Regions from separate parts of the Homo sapiens genome. Here regions 1, 2, 4 and 5 are each linked to region 3. Evidence: promoter capture Hi-C in 16 types of primary human blood cells and fetal thymus (Javierre and others, 2016). All regions are on one chromosome and are shown on one strand. The core of a region is centred on a gene start or on the middle of the fragment in contact, and the rest is flanking DNA. Distances in the headings are between cores, read along the strand shown. Region 1 overlaps NRCAM (neuronal cell adhesion molecule). Region 2 holds the start of LAMB4 (laminin subunit beta 4). Region 3 holds the start of NRCAM (neuronal cell adhesion molecule). Region 4 overlaps NRCAM (neuronal cell adhesion molecule). Region 5 overlaps LAMB4 (laminin subunit beta 4).

Evidence for each region. Contacts are between HindIII fragments. The CHiCAGO score rates a contact against its expected background, and 5 or more counts as called.
Region 1: a contact is called between a fragment that was not itself captured here and the fragment with the promoter of NRCAM in region 3, in 4 of 17 cell types (endothelial precursors, total B cells, erythroblasts and 1 more). The highest score is 9.2, in endothelial precursors.
Region 2: the fragment with the promoter of LAMB4 here is called in contact with the fragment with the promoter of NRCAM in region 3 in 3 of 17 cell types (naive B cells, total B cells and endothelial precursors); the score reaches 6.5 in naive B cells.
Region 4: a contact is called between a fragment that was not itself captured here and the fragment with the promoter of NRCAM in region 3, in 9 of 17 cell types (total B cells, megakaryocytes, naive B cells and 6 more). The highest score is 11.2, in total B cells.
Region 5: a fragment that was not itself captured here is called in contact with the fragment with the promoter of NRCAM in region 3 in 1 of 17 cell types (fetal thymus); the score reaches 5.1 in fetal thymus.

The regions. Positions count from the first base shown.
Region 1 is chr7:108,150,016-108,153,008 of GRCh38, forward strand. It overlaps NRCAM (neuronal cell adhesion molecule), which reads right to left. Exons shown (of 33, transcript NM_001037132.4): 33 at 1-132. Among named protein-coding and RNA genes, the nearest start is that of LAMB4, 21 kb to the left of the region's middle. The HindIII fragment of the contact is 2,478 bases long and covers 488-2,965 here.
Region 2 is chr7:108,129,071-108,131,872 of GRCh38, forward strand. It overlaps LAMB4 (laminin subunit beta 4), which reads right to left and starts at 1,291. Exons shown (of 34, transcript NM_007356.3): 1 at 1,236-1,291. The HindIII fragment of the contact is 5,422 bases long and covers 1-2,168 here.
Region 3 is chr7:108,454,994-108,457,863 of GRCh38, forward strand. NRCAM (neuronal cell adhesion molecule) reads right to left here and starts at 1,443. Exons shown (of 33, transcript NM_001037132.4): 1 at 1,250-1,443. The HindIII fragment of the contact is 7,436 bases long and covers 1-2,870 here.
Region 4 is chr7:108,167,158-108,170,054 of GRCh38, forward strand. It overlaps NRCAM (neuronal cell adhesion molecule), which reads right to left. Exons shown (of 33, transcript NM_001037132.4): 29 at 1,120-1,245. LOC102724363 (a long non-coding RNA gene) reads left to right here. Exons shown (of 4, transcript XR_002956579.2): 3 at 1,524-1,633. Among named protein-coding and RNA genes, the nearest start is that of LAMB4, 38 kb to the left of the region's middle. The HindIII fragment of the contact is 6,018 bases long and covers 1-2,897 here.
Region 5 is chr7:108,095,064-108,098,064 of GRCh38, forward strand. It overlaps LAMB4 (laminin subunit beta 4), which reads right to left. Exons shown (of 34, transcript NM_007356.3): 12 at 165-274. Among named protein-coding and RNA genes, the nearest start is that of LAMB4, 34 kb to the right of the region's middle. The HindIII fragment of the contact is 3,277 bases long and covers 1-3,001 here.

The DNA.
Region 1 (2,993 bases), core at 477-2,976, 300 kb before region 3:
CCATCCTCATTGAACTGGCCATTAACCCCTTCTCCATAGTCAACTAGGCTGTCGTCACTATCTTCTTTTTTCACAGTCCTGTCTGAAGGAGTTCGACTTCCTTTTTTCAAAGGCTTGTGGTCTTCTGCATCACTGGAAGAAAGAGAAAACATTTTTGTCAAGATTGGCATTTAGGTAACATTTTCTGTTTTTAAAGACCATGCATGCAAATTATGAGAAAGCATTTGGAGTCCTGGGCTTCTCTGGCCAAATCTAATTTTCAGGTTGACTCCAATGACGAGGATGAGTTGGAATGGAAATCAGGAGCAGAAATGGTTGAATCATGAAGTCTTCAGTAGAGTGGATGGCTCCCAATAGTGTTTGTTAATTTCAATGACAAATTCTGATTCCTGAGTTGAAAGCAATCCAGAAATAATCACAAGCATTAAATAAGAAAGAATTCAGAAAAGTAGAAAAATCATCACTATTTTGAATTCAAAAAGGCAAAAGCTTATGGCAAGTAAAGAAGTTAGTATGTTAAACTGCATAATATCTCTGATTCCTTGGTTGTGAATGGAGCATGATTTTGGTTAAGTGTGAAATGTGGATTTTTTTTTTCTGAGCCAGAAGGAGAAGCAAAATCCTGCATTTCAAATAATTTTGTTATCAATGCAGGCCAGACTGTAAACTTCAACCTTACCTTTCAAGAGACCTACAAAATTCCATTAAAAGGATGCAGAAGAAACAAATGAAAACAGCCTAAGAAGAAAAGCAAAATCCTTATACTGATAGTACACAGTATTTTTTTGTTTTTTTGGTAAAAATTTTAGTTAATGAGTAAAGATTTATTAATCTGGAAAGAGACGCACTTTAACTTAAAAGCTCTACATTTGTACTATGAATGGCATGCCAATATATTCTAAAGAATGTGAATGACTCCAAACATGTAATAGCAAATGCTTCCTACACTCATGTTAACCCCCCAGCTCCCTTCTTCCTTGTGTGTTATGCAGCCTGACTATACTGGATGGGAATCTGAGGAGTGTACTTTAATACGACTTTACAAGATTCCATTATTACAATTTTTGCTTATTTCTCTGTTGAACCCGTAAGCACAATTTCTGGAAGACAAAGAGTAATCATTATGTTTTTGAATGTTCACCCATACGGTCAAATACCTAGTTATGCATATTGACCTATTTTTTAATAGGTAACATTTGGGAAAAAAATAGAAAAAGGCAATGACAGGATCTAACATTTTGTTTTCTTTCAAAGAACAAAAATGCAAGGCAAAATAGGAAACATATACATTTTTACTAATGTAAAAATGAAAAAGCCTTAACATACAAAAGGTATCACTGGCTGCAGTATTTAATCTAGCAATTTCTGCTAAGACTTTACTGCTCCCTCTGTTTCAGACAGTGACTTTTTTTTTCAAGCCAAGATACAAACATTTCAAGATGCACAAGTATCCTGGCTCTTTTGACAATAACTTTTACTAGGGATTTCAATTTTTCTCCAAGAAGAAAATCTGAAGACTGGGAAATAATGCTAGCATAATATGACACTGGCATATGCCACTGAAAACAACCTGTTTCAGTAATACACAATTTCTTATTGCAAACTGAATAAACTATATTTTCACCACTGCTAATAAACAACTGGAGAGGTATCATCTTGGGGTGGTCTGTGTTTGTGAGCATTTCAGAGGACATAGCATTGAGTGTCTAACCTGTTATGAAAATAGCCTACACAACATCTCTGGGGTTTAATTATTAAATCCTTCTTGTGAAATATAGTTCATGTTTCAGTGTGACAGTTAATTCAGCTGAAGAGTTCAATAACAGGCAGAATTTGTCACCTGGATTCCAATGACTAGTCTTATTCTGCTCTGTAGAACTAGTGTCCCAAGGAATACACTGCTGGAAATTTGTCATCTGTGGCATTTCTTTGGTCTAGCCATCTATCCACCCATGCCTTCATCCAATAAATGTTTATTGAGTGACTACTCTAAGATAGATTGTTCTCGGCACTGGGAATATAGCAGCAAACAAAACAGACTAAAACCCTCACCTCACTGGCTTTATTTCTAGTGGAAGAAAATACAATTAACAATCAACATAATAAAAAAAATTACATATATATTATGTCAGAAGAGGATTAGCACTATGCAAAGTATAGAGCTGAGTAAAGACTGCAGAAGGTGTTGGAGAAGGGATGGAGAGCTGGCATTTAATAAGATGTCCAGGAAGACCTCATCAAGCAGTAATATCTGGTCAACAACTTTAAAAGAGTTGAGTTAGCAAGGTGAATAGTTGGAGGGAGAGCAGTTCCTGCAGGAGTAACAAGCAGTATAAATGTCTCGGGGTGAGGGGAAGCCTGGCAGGTTCTAGGAACACTAAGGAGCTTGGTGTGGCTGGGGGGAGGGAGAGAGAGAGAGAGAAAAGTAGGAGTTAAGTAAGGGGAGTGGCACGGCTAAATCAGGGCTTGTGGAACATTGTAAGGACGCTGCCTTTAACTCTGAGTGAGACAGGAAGCCCTGGGAGGGTTTCAAAGAATAAGTGACATGCTCTGACTTATATTTTAAAAGCACTACTCTGCCATCAGTGTTGAGAATAGCCTACCTTAGAGGGCTGGGGTTGGTAAACTACAGTAAAATTAGGCCACGCCCATTTATCACATAATGTCTATGGCTGCTTTAGCACTACAATAGCAGAATTGCAGAGTTGCAGCAGAGACCGCGCGGCCTGTAAAGTCTAAAATATTTAGTTGGCCAACCTCTGCTCTATAGAGTCAGGGGAGAATATTACAATAATCCAGGAGTGAGATGACTGTGACTTGGACCAGAGTGGAACACTGGAGGTGGTATAAAATGCTCAGATTATGAACATATTTTGAAGGTAGAGCCAACAGGATTTTCTGATAGGTTAGACATGGAATAACAGAGAAAAAGATGGTGCCAGGATTTTTGGTTTGAGCAACAGGAAGCTTGGAAGTACTGTTACTATGGAGTG
Region 2 (2,802 bases), core at 41-2,540, 330 kb before region 3:
AATTTACTGACCATTCACTTATATTTGCCTCATCTGCTCTCACTTGAAGGCTGCAAAGAGTTTACTCTTTTTTGTCAAAACAATTTGGATGAAACAGATGAAGAGAAAAGGGCCATGTGGTGCCCATTTGCCCAGCTCCTAGAACCACAGGTGCATCGTGTTTGATAAGAGCCTCTCCGCAGGAAAGACATGCATTCCGCTCCTGTTTCTACTACAGCACCTTTCTTCTGCAAATTGGACAGTAATTTATAACACAGAAGATAATTATAAATACATTTATATTAGCCCTTAAGACTTTTTCTGGTACACAAATAATTGTCTATAAAGTGACAGTTCTCAGAAATCTTGTATTTAACTTTCCTTTGTCTAACTTTTTTTCATGTTATGTCAGGACTCATTAGATATTTCAACTGTTTTGCCTAAATTTCATCATAGTGAGGAATGCAGAATACAGAACTATAAAGTTTACTTTTTTTTTTTTTTTGGAGACAGAGTCTTCCTCTGTCACCCAGGCTGTAGTACAGTGGCACATTCTTGGTTCACTGCAACCTCAACCTCCCATGCTTAAGCAGTCCTTCCATCTCAACCTCCTGAGTAGCTGGGATTACAGGCATGTGCCACTACGGCTGTATAGTTTTTACAGAGATGGGGTTTCGCCATGTTGCTCAGGCTGGTCTTGACCTCCTGAGCTCAAGCAATTTGCCTGCCTCGGCCTCCCAGAGGGCTGGGATTACAGGCATGAGCCACCATGCCCGGCCAAGTTTATGTTTCTTTTAGTTATAGCAGACTTGCTTTTCTTAAAACAATATTTACACATATCTAGAACATTAACAAAATATTTTGAAAATATGGGTAGTTCTAATGCATTTAAACTTTTATAAGTTGTCATAAGTTTTATAACCATAACAAAAACAAACATTTGCTGAAAACACAATACAGTTGTACATTTCAACACTACATCATTTGAAGCTCCCTTCAAGGTACAGTAAGGCTCAAGTTGTTGGCTTCATATCACAATGCACTAACATCAATTTTCCCATTGGATACTGTTTTATGTTGCAAGAACCTTTATTTAAGTGTCATTGGACTATCATTCTGTAAAAGTAATAGTAATCTATGTGCTAATATGTCCCATTTCTTACTTTATGACAACTCCACTTACCCCCTAAATTCTAATACCTTCATTTAATCCATAAAAATGCCAATTTGCTAGTGAGAGAGCAGGCAAGACTTACCAGGATCTGGGAGTCTTTGTGGAGAGGTTCAGGCAGCAAACGGGGCATGTGAAGACACACCTGAAAGTTAGAGCCAGTTTATGTAGAAAACATTCTCCCCGAGGCACCTAAAAGTAGGGAAAAAAAAAGACAAGAGGTATTCCAATGCCTGTCAAAAAGGTGATTTGTGAAGTCACTTAAGTTTTAACTTATACACACACACACACCCACACACACACATAAACAGGGAAATAGAGCTCAGTTTTACAGCAAATATTTTTCTTGTTTTCTCTAAAACCAATTTTAATAGCCAGGAATAATGCACAGACATTTTGTTCCCTGATTTATTTATGTTTTTCTGGTTCATGTTTTAGCGGTCATTTTCAGACAGCTTGATACTTACCAGCTATAAAATGTGCGGAATTAGATGGGCTTGTTTCTCAGGAATGTGAGACCCCTGACTCCATCCCAATCTACTTTCAGGCGGACCAGGTGGAATAGTTTCAGATGGGTTCCCAAGGCTCTGACCAGTCCTACCTGGCTCAAGATCATCTTAAATGGCTCATAGATTTCTGTTTACCTTGTGATTCGGCAAGTACAACTAACCATTGTGGGAATGGCAAGTTTAAGTGGTTTTGGAATCCATGTGGTTTGAAATTTCATTCTCCTACGAGGAAGGTTTATAGTATAGAAATGAACCTACAGCAATCTTACATTTTATTCACTTGTCAGTGGATTAATATCTCCATTTCAAATCTGTGCAGTTTCAATGGGTAAGTTTATTGGTTGCTTGAAAAAACATTTAGGATTTCTAGAAGCTCATGGAAAATACCCTTAGGGAAGAAAAATGATTGTGAACTGAGCCAAAATGAGATGCTCATTTTTACACAACATTTACAAATCAGGAAATAGATTCAACAAACTTTCACCAAATACCACTCTTACAGGCCTTTAAGCTTTTTCAAGGGTATTTTTCAATGCTTCTTACCTGTTATTTGTGTTTTAATTTATTGCTCTATTTTTCCATCGATGCCACTGTTTTTAATTTTGTTCCCTATAGGTCAGGTTCATCTGCTCACTTCTGATGTACTAGAAAGCAAACTCCAAGAGGGCAGGAACATGTCTTTTCCATTTTAGGATGAAGTATAGAAGAAGCTTGCAGTCAATATTTGCTAAACTAACTTGTTTTATTTATTTTTTACAAGCCAACAGCTGCCACAAAGTACCAGGTGGTAGGAGACCAAAGAGCAGTATTTGGTTTTTAGGTGGATACTTCAGCAAAGTGTGTGAGTGAAATCAAGGGACTTTCAGTTTGTTCAATTGACGGGTTTGTGATCTGTTTTATTAGACCAATACTATTTTCCCTTTAGACTCTTAAATTATTGTGCAAAGCATAAACTCTAGGCATTAAAATTTATATAATTTTTAAACTTATTTCAAACATTGGAATTTCATATTGTCTTTTTTGCCTTTTGAGATATGTAAATTTTAAAAGCTTGTTGCATTCTTGAGTGATTTGATTATATCTTGAGGGGTTTTCCTGTTATATGTGTCTCCAGTTTTATGACGAGAATCAAAGTTACATGGT
Region 3 (2,870 bases), core at 193-2,692:
CCTCGGTGCCCGCGGCGCAGGGGCCACCCGCCAGCGTACGGGGGACGAAGATGTGGCCGCGGGCGCGGGCGGGAGGGGAGGCGATCCGGGGAAGGAAGCGGCCTGTTCGCCAGCCCCGGGGCCCGGGGAGCCCTCCAGCAGCGCTTGCGGCCCTGAGGACACCGCTTTGGGAGAAATGACGACTCCCTTGCTCACCCTACTGCGACACCCCGTCCCCCTCCGCACTCTAGCAGATGCGGGCCGGGAGTAGCTGAGCTGGCCAACCGCCTGGGACCAGGATGCGGCAGCGCCCACCCGCGCGGCGTGGAGGGGGCCGGGGGCGGCGCTCGGCGCAGATGGCGCTCGCTGCGAGATGGATGCTCCAGGGCGGGTAATCACTCCTGGCTCAACACAGCATCCCGGGCGGAGCGGATGCCAGATCCCACCGCTAAGAGCCTGGGCTGGGAAAGCAATCTTTCCAGGCAGCCCCCAGCCCGGTGCGCCGGCCCCGACAAGTCCCAGCCCTCGGAGGCAGGGCGGGGCGCAGGGACTCCCGGGACCCGCACCTGTAAGGCCGACAAAGCCCCCGCAAGCGCCCCACCCCTCTGTCCTCCGTGTCTCTCTCGTTCCGCCTCGATTCCCCGAGCCCTCTCCAGGCAGCGACTGGAGAAGCGAAGTCGGCCTCGCCCCCGAACTCCGTGGTCAGCACAGGTGTACGCACTTCCGAACAAAGCCCACGCCCAGACGTGTCCGCAGGGGCCCGAACAGGCACACGCCCGTGCGCTCCCGGCCCGGCCCCCGCGCTCCTCGCCCCGCCGGCACTGTGGCGTGACGCCCCGCGCCTCCGTGTCCAAGCCCGGGAAGCCGCCGTGCCGGGCCCGCAGGCTCTCCATGCCCAACTGCCCACGAGCAAGAGCTCTGGGCAGGGCTTCCCGGAAAGCGTGGGGTGCGGGCGCGGAGCAGAAGTTGGCCACAGGCTGGAGGGGGTGGTGGGTGCCGGCGCTGCTGGATTTCAGCTGTGCCTTCACCCAAGCGCAGGTCCCCCTGCTCCCTCTCGGCGCCCGCGGGAGTGTCGGGGGCCTGCAGGGGAGAAGGGAGTTGGAGATCTGCTTTGCCCCTCCTGCAGCGCTGCCAGCCCGGTGAGCGCTCGGCTGAACCCCGCGGCGGTGTCCAAGTGACAACGCAGCAGCCTCGCGCGTCCTCCTCCGCTCCAGCCGTCACCCCCGAGCAGGACCCAGTGTCACCGCCAGACGCGCAAGGAGCTACTTACGTTCTCGCGCCGCGCCCTCCGCTCAGCTCTGGCGCGACTGCCCAGGACCCTGGACCGCCGGTGTCCTCCGTTCTCGACGAAGCTATCCCCTCTGGCTGCTCCAGCCAGGCGGCCCCTGCGCCGTCCCCCGCGCCCGCGCGTCTGAGGCTCGGACTGCGGCGCGCGTCCGCCAGCGACCCTGGCGAAGCGAGGCTGGCCCCGCGCCGGCGCGCGCCCCCGCCGCTCCCGCCCTCTCCGCTCCCCCTCCCCGCGCCGTGCTTTTGCCCCTCCCGGCTCTCCTTAGCGTCCTCCCGTCCCCCTCCCCCGCACTCCCTGCGGGCGTCCTCCGCCTCCTCCCCTCCTGGCCAACCCCCTCTTGCCCTGCTGCTGCGACGGCAGCGAATGGGCTCCAGCCGCCGGCGCCTCGAGGGACTGGGTGGCCCCTCACCTGAGCGGCCGCCCCACCGCCAACCTCCGTCAGCCTGCGAGCGCGTGTGGCGGCGGGGGTGGGGGTGCGGGGACGGAGGGCGGGAGTGTTCCGGGGCTAGGATGGCTGGGATTTAGCTACAAAAGATGTTCCAGAAAATGGGTAGTTTTTGAATGCCACTCTCATGGGTTTAGCTTTCTGTGGGAGGTCTGTGGTCTTCTAGTTTTTTCTTTTTTAAAAAGCACTTTCTTCGAAATTCATCAGTTGGGGTGGTTGAGATTGGGTGAGTGGTTTTGGGGGTTTTGTTTTGTTTTTGCAACCGTTCTTTCCAAACACTCCCCGCCGCCCCCCACCACCGCAGAAAAAAGAGCTTTTAGCATAAGGCGGATGCTATCTATCCGCGGTAGAAACTGGGTCTTCTGGTCCCAAGGAATAGGGTTAGTTCGGATTTGCTTATTTACAAATGGGGGAGTATTATGGAGATTTTTTTTTTTTTTTTTTGGCAATGTAAATCGAGAATTAAGATTTTCCAACTGTATAGTATTTGAGTAAACACACTGCTTGCTGCATAGTTCAGGCTCCGAAGCGCACGTCTCCACTCTATCGTGGATGGTGTTCAGGATCCTTAGCCTGACCCTTGGGTCCTCCGTAATCTACTCCGGTCTGCACACAAATTACTTGTCTGCTGGGTATCACCCGACTTGACCACTTACAGCAGGCTCCAGCGCTTAGTGAGCTCAGCGGAGCCTTGATTCCTTCAGTTCTCTAATTCAGGAAAACATTTTCTGAGCTCCTCACCACCCCACCCCACCTCACCACCTCCTCCACCCCCAGCCTCCAAGGTGCTGGGGCAAGATTCAGGAATGAAAAAGAAACAGGTTCATCCTTCAAGGTCTTGACTACCCCAGTGGTCTGTTCTAACTTCAATTTGAACTTGCCCCGTCAGCTCACAGCATCTGCATGCAAGTGAGCAGCCTTCTTTTCCTTCTCCTTCTACTGCCATCCTCTCCTCCTTCTCCAGCCAAATGTGCTCTGGCCTCACAGAGCCTCCCTCGGTTCCTGAACCAGCATGATATCTGGCTGCTGGGTCATTGCACAAGTTGTTTCCACAGTCCCATCAGTGGTTCTTCTGACTCTAGTCCTTACCCAACTGCCATTCAGGTGGTACCTTGCACCTCTCAACTAATTGTCCAAATTTTCCTCTAAAATACCTTC
Region 4 (2,897 bases), core at 190-2,689, 290 kb before region 3:
ATAAGCTAAAGACAAGATGTAGGATGCTTAGGTTTACCATTTTAGATTATTATAAATGTAGTCATGTCAAACAAATCAATTAAAATGACCTACAGGAAAATATCCTCAAAGAAAAATAGACTGGGTATCTAGCTTGCTTATTAATTGTATATATTCCCATTGTATTAATTCTCCTCTTTAATACAAAGGAAGGTTCTTTATCTGCACCTTGCCTTATGAAACTGTTGAGTTTCTCTAAAGATGTTTCTCAAAAGAACTGATACACATTAATTAGCTTAAGTGAACTATGGGAAGAATTGTTTTTTTATGATTCACAAGATGAATCTTTTAGTAAACTTAAATGCCTTCCAACGTATCCAATTAATCGATTCAACCTTTCCCAAGTACCGGTTTTTCTAAAGGGATCGTCATTTCTAAAAACATTTACTTGCATGATAAAGGCTTAAACAGAAAGTTGGACTCTGTTCAACATTTTGTCACAAACATTTATTGGCCACCTCATTTGTTCTATGTAAGCACACTGCACTTAGGAGGGGGGTACTGGCTTTTCATAAACTGCTGAAAGTGAAAGCTGCCCCATCTCCCAGTAGATGTGGCCAGGATCTACGAAGAGTGCCTGACTTGAGAATACATCAAACGTTAAAACATAATGAATGCTCTCCCAAAGTATTAATTTTCTGCGGTTTCTTATAAAATTCTGTTGGGCTAGTCAGGGCAAAATGAATACTTTCAAGTCAGTTTGATTTCTGTTACTTCAAGATCCAATTTGAAAAAAAAACCTTTTCTTCTTTTCTATTGTACTTGCAAATATAATTATTCCTTCTTACTCTTGTTTATGTGTTGTGGGCACAGAACTAGTTTCAAGTACTATGATATGAAAATAACATACGTAATGGAACATATGCCCTCTGTTATTAATAACATAAAAAAGCAATTCCTAGTCGTGCATATAATATGTGGTAGGCTGATGGTTCACTATAATTTTTTTAGATAACTCATTCATTTAATTGGATCAAGTTATTTTTCAAGATGATCCATAGTAAATTCTTAAGAATGTTTTTAATCTTTTAAAAAATGCATCCCCCAAATTAAAAATCGGGTAATGAAATTGTTTCTTACTGCCTGCTACACCATATTCAACATAAAAGTTCACATGCTCTGGTCCCTCATATTCCCAACTGATATTGGCATAGGTCTCAGCAGCTGCAGCAGTAAGATTGCTGATCCTGGGATTTACTGCTTGAACTAAACATACAATAGAAAAATAAAACAAACAATCATATTGCAACACCATACACACGAATATAAAATAAGTTTAAATACTCTGAAATTGTGCAAATAGAATTAAATAGAATTTACTGCTAAAATTTAGGGTTCACTCATGCTTTGCTTTCATTACAGAAAGGTTTTTGTTTCTTAAATTCAGCACTAGGAAATTAATAATCAGAAATAATGACGCATAATATTAAAATTTGTGAGTTCTATTATATGGGTTCTGAACAATGTTAACTGTTGTCCATTAGATACAGTCCCGGGAAATGTCACCGTCTTCATTTACTAAAGTGTGATGGAGAGGGGGATTGCTGAACAATCCCAGGGACAGACGTCATCATGGAATGTCAGAGACGCCAAGGTAAAACCCAATACTATGTGGCTACTTTTCAAACCTATTTGTCATCTCAATGCAGGTCTTTAAAAAATCTGTGTTGGTGTGACAGAGAATGCCCCTTTGAACAGCGTTTTTGATCTGTTTTAAAAAACAGACTTCTTTGAGTATCACTGGGAAACTCAGGGACCCCAGGTAAGAAATCCCTGCTTTAGAGAATGATGGATGGTAAGGGTATGTTGGAAGAGAAGCTGCAAAAGGAATTTCCAGATGTGTTCTATCAGAAGTTAAGAAAGAATAAATAAAAGGAGTAAAAACTATTTCATGTAACATTTCCTAGAGAGCAAGACAATCTTACCTGTTAACTGTTTGTTACAAAGCATTTTCTGAAAAATCATAGTGCAACCTAAATAGCTTCTTAAAAATCCAAATTATGGAGACCAGATGATGCTACATGCTTGCTACTGGGTAAAGACAACATCTAAAGTCATTAAAAAATGTTATTTGAATACCTGAGGCAGGCAATTCTATCAGTCCTACCTCAATAGCTTAAACTAAAAATGAAACATTTACAGATGTGTTAATTTGGGTAGTTAAAAAAGAAGATCAATTTATTATCTCACATAAAATTTACTAGGATAGTCAATCAGACAGCATCAATAGGTTTACCAAGACACTAAAATTATATTCTAAGATATGTTTATAAAATGTAGACGCTCAAGACCTTTGTTCAAATAAATGTAATAAAATTACATTTCTTAGAATTAAGAAAAGAAAGATATTAAAGCAGTTAAATAATGCTTTTGACTTCTGAAATATAATTCAACAACACATGCAAATTTTGTATCTCTTTGTGCTAAGCATGGGGAAACAGCAGAGGGCAAAACTGATTACTGAATTATGCAGAGTCCTTCTGTGGACCTAATTAATTTTAGTTTTCCGAGATTTTCTTCTTATAGGTAAAATAATAGGAATATGATCAATCAATGACAGTAAATATGCACACATGTGTAAAACATCAATGGCAACCCAGGAAAAACATTAATTTTCTTAAAAAATTTTGGAATATTGAAACAGGAATTTAATCTTGGAGTAATATGGAAGATGTTCAAGGCAGAAACATAATACTTCTAACACAAGAGCATTTACTAACAGAAGAGCAAAATACTTCTAACGGAAAAGCATTTAGTTTCTTCTTATATTTTACATTGGTTTCTATGGGTGCTCCCTTCTCAGAGTTTCTTCTCTAAACTGTTCATTATTATTATTTTGTTTCTAGTTTTATTGAAAT
Region 5 (3,001 bases), core at 125-2,624, 360 kb before region 3:
TGATAGGTAGTGTTTGCTGATTTCTGTAGTGTAAATACTCATACCACTGGAGTATTAAAACACAATAGGACAAGAAAGAGATTAGCAAAACCAAGTCTTACCTAGGCAATGGCAATAGAAATCTGTATCACTATAGAAAAGGGAAACTATAGGCAAATACATACAGTGCATTCTTCGCAGTGTGCTCCGGTGACATATGACAGGCACAAGCATTGGCCTGTATCCACATCACAGGTCAAGAATGGCAGACTCCCAAGGGGGTTACAGTCGCAGGCTGAAAGCACAGCATACACAATTATTCTCATTCTTAATTCCTCCACTCTTGCAAGTGTACTTAATAGCTCACACAAAGCAAGAAGCATAACCGCAAGAACACAGAGAAGCCTGCCCTGCCAGGTTTATTGTGTGCCTGGCTGCGTGATTATTGTTTTGCATATAACCTCACAGAGGAAATCCTGTGTCAGGCACTTCCAGAGCCTCATGTAGTTTTACTGGATGGCAATTAGGAGGAGGAGACAAGTAGGTGTAGCTAGTTGTACATGCTGCAGTACTGGCACAGTAACCCTAAGTGATGCTGACCAGGCTGGTGACTCAGAGGCAGGAGTTTCTGGGAGTCATGGTTATTACTGATCGCTCCTTCTCTGGCAGATGCATCTGGAATCCCACTCTCTCTTCTCTCCTTTAGTACTTTGTTACTTTTTGTCTTAATTCCCCCCTCCTTCTTCTCCTCTACCCGTAGACATTTCTGAGCCCTGCATATGTTGCAAAGGCTAAAAAGACATGCTACCAGAGCAAGGAATACACTTGCAGCAAATACCAACGTTCATGGAAATAACCCAAATGTCCCATTGACTAATGAATGGATAAATAAAAGTGGCACCTCTGTACAATAGTATGTTATTCAGCAATAAAAAATAAAGACCGATGTAATCTGCAATATGGATAAAACTTGAAAACATTACTAATTGTACCATCTTAACCATTTTAAGCAGGCAGTTCAATTGTGTTAAGCACATTAACATCGTTGCATAAACAAACTCCAGAACGCTTTTCATCCTACAAAACTGAAACTCTATGCCCTTTATATAATAACTCCCCACTCCTTCTCCCCTCTAATCCCTAGCAACCACCGTGCTGCTTTCGGTCTGATTTTGACTACTCTGGGTACCTCATATAAGTGGAATTATATAGTCTTTGTCTTTTTGTGACTGCCTTCTTTTACTTTGCATAATGTTCTTAAGGATCATCCATGTTGATGGATGTGTCAGAATTTTTTTCCTTTTTAAGGAAGAATAAGATTCCATTGTATGTAAATACCACATTTTGTTTACCCACTCATCCATCAGTGGATACTTGGGTTACTTCCACCTTTTGGCTAGTGTTGCTGTGAACATGGAAATACAAATATCCCTTCAAAGCTCTGCTTTCAATTATTTTGGGTATATATGCAGAAGAGGGGTTTCTTTTGTGGGGGGATGAAAATGATTGTGGTGATGATTACACAACTTCCAATATACTAAAAATTATTGAATTGTTTACAGGGTGAATTGTATGGTATGTAAATTATATTCAATAAAGCTGTTATGGGCTGGGCACAGTGGCTTATGTCTAGAATCCCAGCACTTTGGGAAGGTGAGGCGGAAGGGTTGCTTGGGATCAGGAGTTGAAGACCAGCCTAGGAAACACAGTGAGACTCCGTCTCTCAAAAAAAAAAAAAAAAAAAATTAGATGGCTGTGGTGGCACATGCTTGTAGTTCTAGCTACTTGAATGCTGAGGTGAGAAAATTGCTTGAGTCCAGGAGTTTAAGGCTGCAGTGAGCTATGATTGTGCCACTGTAAGCCAGCCTTGATGACAAAACAAGACTCTGTCTCTCTCAAAAAAAAAAAAAAAAAAAAAAAAAAAAAAAAATTTAAAGCTGGTATACACCCCCACACACCAAAATAATGTTCAGCCTGTTCTTGGAGGACATCATTTTAGTCAGAGAGTCAGAGAAACATGTGGAATGCTGAAAGGTATGATGGGAAATTGGTTTGACTATATAATTCATTATCATGACATTTAATTTTGCCATCAAACTTAAGAAGAGCGTTTTATTACAGAAAGATTCAGACCAATGTTTTCTAAACATGCAAATAATCCACAGTTCCTTATATGGGCAAAAATATGGAGCAGGAGGCTGTGACCAAATGGAAATTATTTACCCAGGGTTTCTGAGGAATCTGTAGCTCTACGGAGGCCCGGAGCAGCTCTAAATTTCTGTGATCCTATAGCTAAGGGTCTGCTCATTTGGCCTTAGAAAACTGCTGAGGTGTTTTTCTATTTCCGCTCCCCCGCTTCCCTGAGCTCTTTAATTATTTTTTCTTTTATCAGAGAACATATGGACCAATATTAGAAGGGGTGTGAGAAGAAAGGGGAAACATAATTTAAAAAATAAAAAGAGGCCGGGCATGGCGGCTCACGCCTGTAATCCCAGCACTTTGGGAGGCCGAGACGGGCGGATCACGAGGTCAGGAGACAGAGACCATCTTGGCTAACACGGTGAAACCCCGTCTCTACTAAAAATACAAAAAATTAGCCGGGCGTGGTGGCAGGCGCCTGTAGTCCCAGCCACTGCACTCCAGCCTGGGTGACAGAGCGAGACTCCGTCTCACAAATAAATAAATAAATAAATAAACAAACCACCACTTGAAAATTGCCTAAGATGACATCAATCTTGCAGAAACACATAATGTAATTTAATGGATTTGTATGTAGAGGTCTAGTGGAAACCAAAAAAACTTTTGCAACTTGGCGTTAAATTTCTTGCCATTTCCCCGTGTTTGTTCCAGTGGGGAAAATGTGAATGCCCCCTGCTGGTCCTTTATGATAAACCCAGCAAACCACAGAGAAAAGTTCTCCACTAACCGCTTAGGATTTACGGGAACCATTATGTTACTTTTTAAAACCCAGAGGTTGGCAGGATTCTTAGGTATTCATGATCATCAATTTTTAGGGCAGACA